3 separate regions of the Homo sapiens genome follow, and all the other regions are linked to region 1. Evidence: promoter capture Hi-C in 16 types of primary human blood cells and fetal thymus (Javierre and others, 2016). All regions are on one chromosome and are shown on one strand. The core of a region is centred on a gene start or on the middle of the fragment in contact, and the rest is flanking DNA. Distances in the headings are between cores, read along the strand shown. Region 1 holds the start of ELMOD2 (ELMO domain containing 2). Region 2 has its middle 5.4 kb from the start of SETD7. Region 3 holds the start of MGST2 (microsomal glutathione S-transferase 2).

What was found. The method cuts DNA at HindIII sites, captures the fragments that hold promoters and counts their contacts. A CHiCAGO score of 5 or more calls a contact.
Region 2: a contact is called between a fragment that was not itself captured here and the fragment with the promoter of ELMOD2 in region 1, in 1 of 17 cell types (total B cells). The highest score is 5.4, in total B cells.
Region 3: the fragment with the promoter of MGST2 here is called in contact with the fragment with the promoter of ELMOD2 in region 1 in 8 of 17 cell types (fetal thymus, activated CD4 T cells, erythroblasts and 5 more); the score reaches 15.3 in fetal thymus.

Annotation. Positions count from the first base shown.
Region 1 is chr4:140,522,616-140,525,735 of GRCh38, forward strand. It overlaps ELMOD2 (ELMO domain containing 2), which reads left to right and starts at 1,553. Exons shown (of 9, transcript NM_153702.4): 1 at 1,553-1,665; 2 at 2,805-2,955. The coding sequence starts at 2,814. RefSeq lists silencers at 1,255-1,604, 1,795-1,914. The HindIII fragment of the contact is 7,186 bases long and covers 1-2,775 here.
Region 2 is chr4:139,560,031-139,563,150 of GRCh38, forward strand. No RefSeq gene overlaps it. Among named protein-coding and RNA genes, the nearest start is that of SETD7, 5.4 kb to the left of the region's middle. The HindIII fragment of the contact is 1,271 bases long and covers 894-2,164 here.
Region 3 is chr4:139,664,216-139,667,335 of GRCh38, forward strand. MGST2 (microsomal glutathione S-transferase 2) reads left to right here and starts at 1,604. Exons shown (of 5, transcript NM_002413.5): 1 at 1,604-1,862. The coding sequence starts at 1,805. RefSeq lists enhancers at 1,163-2,362, 1,659-1,828. The HindIII fragment of the contact is 3,780 bases long and covers 254-3,120 here.

The sequences.
Region 1 (3,120 bases), core at 303-2,802:
TTAGTATAGCACTTTGAAAAGGCAAAAGGATTACATATAGAATTATCTCACCTTCTACTATGTAAAAGTTTGTGTAATAATGGAGATCCTCCTGAAATAGAAGTTAGTTTACAGGTCAATTTGCCAAATCGGCTGTGCACTTTGCCTTTCTAAATCTTTTAATCTATAATTTTAAAAATTACATTAGATGATAGTTATAAGTTCTCTTTAAGATTTAAGATTCTGTGATTTTACTATTGTAGTGTCTATCCAGACTTCATTACCAAGTTCATTGTTGGTATGGGACAGGGATGACGGCTTATGCACCCTGCACATGGCTAGTGTTCTACAATTAGTCCATTTTTTAAACGCTGGTTGAGATGTGGGAAAGTATGTATCACTTGCTTCAATTCAAGGAGTTGGAAGGAATATACATATATACACTTGCATATAATATTTTTGGAATTAGAAACAAGAAAGTAATACTGGTTGCTTCTGAGCAAGGTGACGGAGGTATCAGGAGTTTTGGGTGGATGGGGAAATTTGTTTTCAGTATCAGTTGTCCTTTGTATTTATATTCTACTCTCCCCCTTGCTCTTTCTCCTCCAGCCACCCCGGCCTTCTTGCTCTTCCTCCAACATTTCAAAAACCCTCCCAATTCAAGGTCTTTGCACTTGTCATTCTGGTGCCTGGATCACTCTCCCTCCAGATACTCCCACAGTAAACTCCCTTACTTCGTTCAATGAGGCCAAAATGCCACGTTAATAATGAGACTTCCTTGACCACACTGTATGCAATGACTTCCCCCACAGACTCCCCATTACCCCTTAGCTAACAACCCCTATACCCTTAACATTTAGTAGCATCTGACATATTAAATATTTGGCTGTTTGTTTCGTGTTTGACTGCCTTTTGGAACACTGCCTGTGCTAACAATCAACAAATACTTGTTGAATTAAGAAACTTACTGCTTGAGGTTTTTAAAAAGTAATCACGAAATTACTTTTTCAACAAAAACAACCAGTTAGGGAATAAACATTTGATAAATTAACTTTTAGACCTATAGTATTATAGGATAAAGTCCAAACTTCGTTTCTCAACACATGGACTTTCCTCATCTGCCACGTATTGGCCACAGTCAAGTAGCCGGTTCCCTTTTCTCGTGCATAAAGTGGAGTTATTCATAATTACTTCACAGAATTAAGATTCAATGCAGATGAAAGCGCTTTTGTAACTAAGGCACTATAAGTTACCGTAAGCACAGGGTTTCTTCCGCGCTTGGAGCCTAGGAATAGTACAAGGTGTCAACCCGCGCTAAGGACCTGAGGTTCAAGGAGGGAAAAGTCTCCAGCGCAGCGCTAGGAGGCGCTACTCCGGCGCGGGGCGGGGCTCCTGGCCGCCGTTGCCAGGGAAACCGTCTGGGCGTCCCTAGTATCTGAGCCCTCGCGCCTGGGCCACTCAGCTCGACCTCTCTCCAGCGTTAGCAATAGGTGGAGCGCGGGCCAATCGGAAGAGGCCGGAGGGGCGGGGCGGGCAGTGGCCCTGGGAAGGCGGGTCCGCGGCCTCGCTCCCTGACTTCCGGGTCGCGGTGCTTGAAGGGAGTGTTCCGTCGTTTCCGTTGCCGGCTGTTTGCAGTGGGGAAACCGAGGCAGCTCCTGCTCCCCCTAGTTCTTCCGCTCCTGTGAGGTGGCTGCTGTTTCTTTTCCTCTTGCCCCGGATGCCTCGGTGCGGCTGCACTGAGAGCGCGCGGGCTCGCGAGCCCCGCGGGGTTCTGCGGGAACCCGGGGGCGCCTGGGCCGGCGGGTCTTTGTGCGAGCCCTGCCCTCCCATTCGCGGGCGGCGCGCGAGGGGGGTCGGCGCAGAGACGCCCAGAGCCCTGGGGTGCTCAGGCGCCGCTACGCGTGCATCCCCTCTGCTCGGCAGTTCTGCGCTTTTGTCCTAATGAGCGCGGACTAGATGGCTTGATTTTCAAGATAATGATCAACCCAGCTGTGCTATGCGCTCTTTCTGCACTGACCTGCGGGTACTTCGAACTTCGACAGTCCCTCCTCAGGCCCTAGTCCAGAGGTGACGTGTCTGTGGGAATGTTTAAGGCAGGAAGGAGACGAGCAATTTTGTTTTTAAGTATCTCCCTCTCACTAGTATCTCCCTGACTTTTTCATTTAGAAGCTGAAGAATTTTCTTATGGCATAAGATATAGTTGTATCGAGTGTGTACTTAGCAAAACAAAAACTTGTTAGTATTTCTGCCCTTGACCTATTGAATGGAAAATCAAGAATGAGCTAAGGTGTTATATACTCAGTGTTCAACTTGTATACTTAAGTTTGTAGTGTTTTTATTTGCTGGCATCACCTGACTGGGACAGTTGTAACGAATTATCCACATGGGATAAGAAGAGTGTATTCTATAAAAACAACTCTGATGTTTTGGTATATATTTTAATTGTTGATTAGTTGGAGTCCTCTTGATCTTGAACTGTTGAGCCCCAGTTCTCAAAGAATGGGAAGTTAGGAAACTAAGATATGAAATACAATTATTTAGCAAAAAGTGCAAACCATTCTGTTACTCTTTCAAGCCATTGAATAGTTTGAGTACATTGTTTGAATTTTAGTTTTGAAAAAGTGATTAATTGGCCATTTGATCATCAATTAATAGCGGTATATATTACACCTGCCATTGTTTTTAAATGCCTAATTAAACTGTCAAAACAGACACAATGAAATGATAGATACATAATTTGAGATTTGATCAGTTGTATAAACTTTTTAAATTTTAAAATTCAGTTTAAGGTCATTAAGCTTGTCTTGTATGTTTCCCTCCTCCAGGAAAAAAAAATGTTTATTTCTTTGTGGGAGTTCTTCTATGGGCACTTTTTTCGATTTTGGATGAAATGGCTATTACGACAGATGACTGGGAAGTGTGAATTGCAGCGAATATTTGATACCTATGTAGGTGCACAAAGGACACACAGGATAGGTAATGTTATTCAAAAAGAAAAAGTACTAATAAAAGTTTAACGGAGTGTTTTTCTCAGGACTCACAGTGACAGATGTATTTCTTTTGTATCCTGACAAGTCACTTAAACTGAATTTCATAAGCTCTGAAGTCCCGCTTTGACTCCTTCAGCTCTAAAATTGTATG
Region 2 (3,120 bases), core at 279-2,778, 960 kb before region 1:
CCGCCAGCAGGATGACAAGGATAAAATTAGTGAAAGACCTTTTAAATAATCATCAAGTCTCGTTTTGGCACTGCTCACTCCTTCACAAGATTTTTTCCCACCAAATTAGCCAGTTTGATTGAGTTTTTGCTTTGTCTGTTTTGGTTCCACCAAGAACTAGCCAAGCAACTGGGCAATTCAGTTCTGCGGGGGCCGGGGGGGGGGCCTTCGTTTTCCCATCTGTAAATGAAGAGTTGGGCTACATAAATTCGAAGCTCAAACCTTCTCTGTCCACCTTTTCTGGAGAAAAGGTAAATAGAGCCTGAGAAGCCCCAGGAAAAGGCACATAAAAAGGAAATGGGAAGAAGCCAGGGCAACTCCAACAAACTGAATACTCAAGTCCTCTCACGTTAATGGCTCTATCTGGGCAGGCAGGTGAGGGGAGAACCTTTATCTTGACTCTAGGGAGGGAAGCATGGAAGTTTTAGGAGAACCAAGGTTCCTGGGTTCTGAATCACTGAGTCACTAATCAAGTGGCTAACTGTGTTAGTGACAACTGCAGAAGCTGGAGGGAGGGGCTGGGAGAGGAGCAGCGAGGAGGAGACGGGTGGGGGAGGAGATGGGGATGAAAGGGAAGCGTTTGCAGCTTGTGGAGCACTGGGAAGAGCAGGGACATCAAGGGCACCAAATAAAGGTCCAGGGAGCAAAGAAAGAAATGGAGAAAATTCATTCTGCTGGAAATAGACATGAGTGCAGTCAGGAAGAAGACTTACAGATTCAGGGTGACCTGATTTGATTACAGCAACAGGAAGTGCAAGAGAGAGAGGGCAGAATAACCTGACCTAAGGAAGTGAATTAAATAATAGAGAAGACACCACAGTTGCCATGGTATTAAAATACCTCATGCCACATTAAGCTTCCTCTTTCTCTTTTGCTTGATTCTTGTTTTTGCAACATGTTAATGTTGCAATGACATGTTAATGTCATTGCAGGGTATCCAGTAAACTAAATTTAGACTTTCTGGGGCGGGGAGGGGAGGGAAGATGCAGCCCAGATCTCCCTGTTTGGGTCGACTCTGGGCCAATATTGTTCCTTCACAGAGTTCTTGGGGTTTTTTGCATTATGGGATATGAAAACTCTTATGTCAGGCTTGGGCCTAGTGAAGCTGCTGAGTGAAATGATTGAAAAAAAAAAAATGAGGCCAGGCACGGTGGGTCACGCCTGTAATTCCAGCGCTTTGGGAGACAGAGGCAGGTGGATCACCTGAGGTCAGGAGTTCATGACCAGCCTGGCCAACATGGTGAAACCCTGTCTCTACTAAAAATACAAAAATTACAAAAATACAAAAACTGGTGGTGCATGCCTGTAGTCCCAGCTACTTGGGAGGCTGAGGAAGGAGAATCACTTGAACCTGGGAGGCGGAGGCTGCAATGAGCCGAGATGGCATCACTGCACTGCACTCCAGCCTGGGCCACGGAGTGAGACTCCATCTCAAAAAAACAAACAACAACAAAAAAAACCCTCACACACACACACACACACACAAAGAAAAATTGGAAATAGTTTTCAAAGGGGCATCTGTTTTAGAAATTACTTTAGAAAAACAATAGGATTGCAGAAACTTGAAAAATAAAGACAAACCGCCACCAAAACCAAATGTGTTTTCATAGATATTATTTTCTCTAATTGTTTTTGAAAAATTACTTTACTAGGCTAAAATTAAGATTATTGAGTCCTGCAATTGGTCCTCTGCAAAAGTAGACATTGCAGAGGGCAGGTACATGGTATACTCTTTTGACACTACAATATCCAGGATGGGCAGAGGAGTATTTCCAGCTGACCTATTTACCACAAATGTCATAACATTCATCAAGGGTCAGCTCTTGACCTTCCTCAAGTGGACTCACATTAACTAGACCCCGAGAGACTGAGATGTATGCCTGAATTATGATGGACAGATCAGAATACTCACACTGTCAGGGCAAAAGATCTCTCTATATAAATAAATGCACTTGAGAAGACAAATTCCATCCAAAAGTTTGCTTAGTTATCTGGAGTAGAATGAAGGACATTAGTTGTGTGGTCCACAAGACAAATACTCTGATACAGTGTTCTGAAAGAATGAGGCTGCCCACCCATCCCACTCACCTCTGCTTAGATGGGCCCTATGGCTTCTGAGGCTTCAAGCTTCTTTCTCCGTGCTCTAGTTTCTCCAAACCTGATTCTCCACACAGCGTCCTATACAGCCCATTAGGCAGATTTACACTTTCTAAGTCATAATGACATTCTCTATCTTCCTGGCATTACAGCCAAGTCACTTTAATGGGAATTTGAGGTAATCCTCAAACTTCTCAGTCACAAATTGAGTCACTCTCTTGGTTTATGCCCACTGAATTCTAGTCAAAACCATTGAGTGTGCAGATTTTGGTAGTCAAACTTTCTGAGAGCAACCTGGTTCTCAAGTTCTTGGGAAAGCACCTCATTTCTGCTTCACAAGCCATCAACAGTGGGCCAACCTTCTTAGGCTACCATGATTTCTGAGAAAGAGACCAGAGACATATTAAGACCCACGTGGCCTGTCCTGTGATACAGTCATCCAAGTTTTCCTGGGCACTCAGCTCAAAGATATTTCTATTCTGTGCAGGAGTGGAGAGGTTGGCTCTTTGCTATGATAGCTTAGGCAACGGAACGCCACCTTGAGGATGCAGATTCCATCTACTATAACATAGATGGAGGGCAAAGTGTCCTCTTCATTTTCCAAATGGGACTGTCTGGCTTTGAATCCAATATCCAGAAATGAAAATACCCATGTGGTCCTCTTCACTCAGTCACAAACAAAGACAGGTTGATTAGAGTGTTTCTGGGACCTGGCACTGAAATGACAACCCTCGATCTACAGGCAGCCCTCACCCGGAGGTGCTTGATGCTAAGCCAGCCCTTCCTGTATGTATTTGCTGGAGACCTGTCTTGCAGCCTCTTTGGATCTGGCGTGTCCTTTCAGGTCATTTAAGGTCTTATTGATCCTCCTTGCTGAGTCCATAGATCAATTCTTGGGAAAAGATGCTGTGGCCAACTTTTGGAATGTCTTTCAGACAAATTTAAAGAGCCCTGCTCAAATGCTCCTGTGCTCAAGATAGAGGA
Region 3 (3,120 bases), core at 354-2,853, 860 kb before region 1:
AGGCTCAGAGAGGCCCAAGGTTGTGTTATTAAATTGTAGGGTCTGTGTGAGGCTGAGGCAACTGCCCTCCCCAGAAGACACTGGGAGCTCCCTGCTAGGGACTAAATGTTTGTGTCCCCTCTGCAATTCATATGTTGAGACCCTAACCCCCAACGTGATGTTATCAGGCATTTGGCAGATAATTAGCTACAGGTGAGGTTATGAGCATAGGCCCCCATAATGGGATCTGTGCCCTTATAAGAAGTGACCAGGAAGCTTACTCTTTCTCTGTCTCCAACATGAAGGTGTCCTTCTGCAAACCAGGAAGAGGGCCCTCACCAGGAACTGATTGGCCAGCACTGTCATCTTGGACTTCCCAGCCTTCAGGACTGTGACGAATAAATTGCTATTGTAAGCCACCCAGTCTATGGTATCTTTGTTATAGCAGCTTGAGCCAAGATATACCCTCTAATGGTGCTGTAGGATGGGGTGAGGAAAGGCCCCCAGCTCTGGTTTTTGGGAAGCTGCATCTTTATTTTTATTATTTGTTTGAGACAGGGTCTCACTTTGTCACCCAGGCTGAAGTGCAGTGGAACGACCTTGGCTCACTGCAGTCTCAGGCTCCTGGGTTCAAGCAATCCCCTTGCCTCAGCCCCCTAAGTAGCTGGGACTACAGGCACGTGCCACCATGCCCTGCTAATTTTTGTATTTCTTTAAGAGATGGGGTTTTGCCATGTTACCCAGGCTGGTCTCGAACTCCTGAGCTCAAACCATCTGCCCATTTCAGCCTCCCAAACTGTTGGGATTACAGGCATGAGCCATCCTTCCAGGCCAGAATCTGCATCTCTAAAGAGCAGATTCTCCTGCCTCAGCCTCCTGCGTAGCTGGGACTACAGGTTCGTGCCACCATGCCCAGCTGATTTTTTGTATTTTTAGTAGAGAAGGGGTTTTACTGTGTTAGCCAGGATAGTCTTGATCTCCTGACCTCGTGATTCACCCTCCTTGGCCTCTTAAAGTGCTGGGATTACAAGTGTGAGCCATCGCGCCCGGCCGGTTTATTTTTTTAAAAATGGCTGGGCACAGTGACTTGTGGCTGTAGTTCTAGCTACTTGGGAGGCTGAGGCAGGAGGATTACTTAAGCCCAAGAGTTGGAGGCTGCAGTGAGCTATGATCGTGCCACCACACACTCCAGCCTGGGTGACAGATCAAGACCCTGTCTTAAAAAAAAAAAGTATGATTATTATCAGAGTCTCTAGGTGACAGTGAGAGGCAGCCTGGTGCAGGGGATAGGGCACAGTTGTAATCTGCTAGACTGGGTTCAAATCCTAAATCGGCCATTCAGAGCGTGAATACATTAGAACTGGCTTAAATTAGCATTTAAAATGTCAACAGGATTAAGTAAGTAGTTCCTTCTCACTTTTTCCACAGGAGGTGAGAAAGGTCTCAGCAAGGCCCTAGGAGGGAAGGGCGTGGGGATGAAAGGGATCCAGAGAGTCTGTGCATTGGCAGAGAAGATAGTGTAACTGGCACTGCGGCTGGAGGGCTGGTCCCACAGTGAGCTACAGCCCTGCCCGCTGGCCGTGGGAGAGGCTTAAAACAAACGCCGGAAGCAACTCCCAGCCCCATAAAGATCTGTGACCGGCAGCCCCAGACCTGCCTGCCTTCCTGACTTCTGTTCCAGAGCAAAGGTCATTCAGCCGCTTGAATCAGCCTTTTCCCCCCACCCGGTCCCCAACTTTGTTTACCCGATAAGGAAGGTCAGCATTCAAAGTCAAGAAGCGCCATTTATCTTCCCGTGCGCTCTACAAATAGTTCCGTGAGAAAGATGGCCGGGAACTCGATCCTGCTGGCTGCTGTCTCTATTCTCTCGGCCTGTCAGCAAAGTAAGAGGCATGGGAAGTTCGTGTGTGTGCGCGTGTGTGCGTGTGTGTGTGTGTGTGACAAGGCTTGCGGGAGAGAGAGGGAGGGAGGGAGATGGGTCCGGTGTTTTGTTTCCTACTTGCCCTTGCAGGTAGCTCTGGGTCCTCAGAGCACAGTCGCCTCAGGGTCACCCATGCCGCCTGCTACCCTCCTTCCCAGGGGCAAGCAGAGACTGAGAACATTCCAGAGATTAGTTCTCCCAACTGGAACGCTGTGGGGCCTCAGAGCTCAGCGATTCTGCATCATCTGTGATTACGACCCACAGCCCGTTCAAACGAGCGTTAGTAGCCTGCTAACCTGCAGGAAGTGGTGTGAATATTAATTACAAGTGTTCCAAAGGAAACGTGCCTGCTTCTAAACCTGGTTGTGATTTCTTGAACGTTGATGTTTTAATTAATGTGTTTTCTTAAATAAACTGCCTATGGTGGTATGATTATCAGATTGAAAAAAACTTCCTTCAGAAATATTAGCTTTAGATTAAGTAATTAGCTCTAAATTTTAAAACAGCTTCCCACTAGGATTATTCAATATCTCGACTGCCTGGTTAAATAGAGGGCTTTTACTCCATGGGAGTCACATTTGCTCAATTCATATTATCTTACCTACAATGTCAGCTGGGGAAAGGGGTCCGAGTGCAAGAGTGCAAGACTTCTTACCAAGCATGCATATTTCTTTATATTTCCAAGTATGCCTGTACCAGGAAATAGGGCCAAGCCGTAGACTGCTCAGGTTACACAAACAGCCAGAAGCAGGAAGGCCTCACAGCTGAGGATCCAGTCCAGGCCTCCGTGCATGCTCAATGTCTTGCCTAGCCAGTCTGTTTTGAGATTGTATGAAGATCTTGAACCTTCAGACTCACGTTTTGTGGTTTGATTCACACAATCTGTTGTGGAGAAGAGCAGGATATTTGTTTCTAATTAAAGAAGCACTTAGATCTGTTAAAAGGAAAACCCTAGACAAATTACATTTAACTGAGTTTAATTGAGCAAAGAACGATTCACAGTTGGGCATGGGGAACCGGAATAGGTTCAGAGAGACTCTGGGGCTGCCACGTGGTAGAAGAAGATTTATGGACAGAAAAAGGAAAGCGACTCCCAGAAAACGGAAGCATATAGTTCACGATGTACGGAGAAACCTTTAGGCTGAACTTAAAATATGTCAGAAGGCAGCTTTAGGCTAAACCTAATTTAGCAGGTCTAAGGCTCACTGTTGGTAGCATCC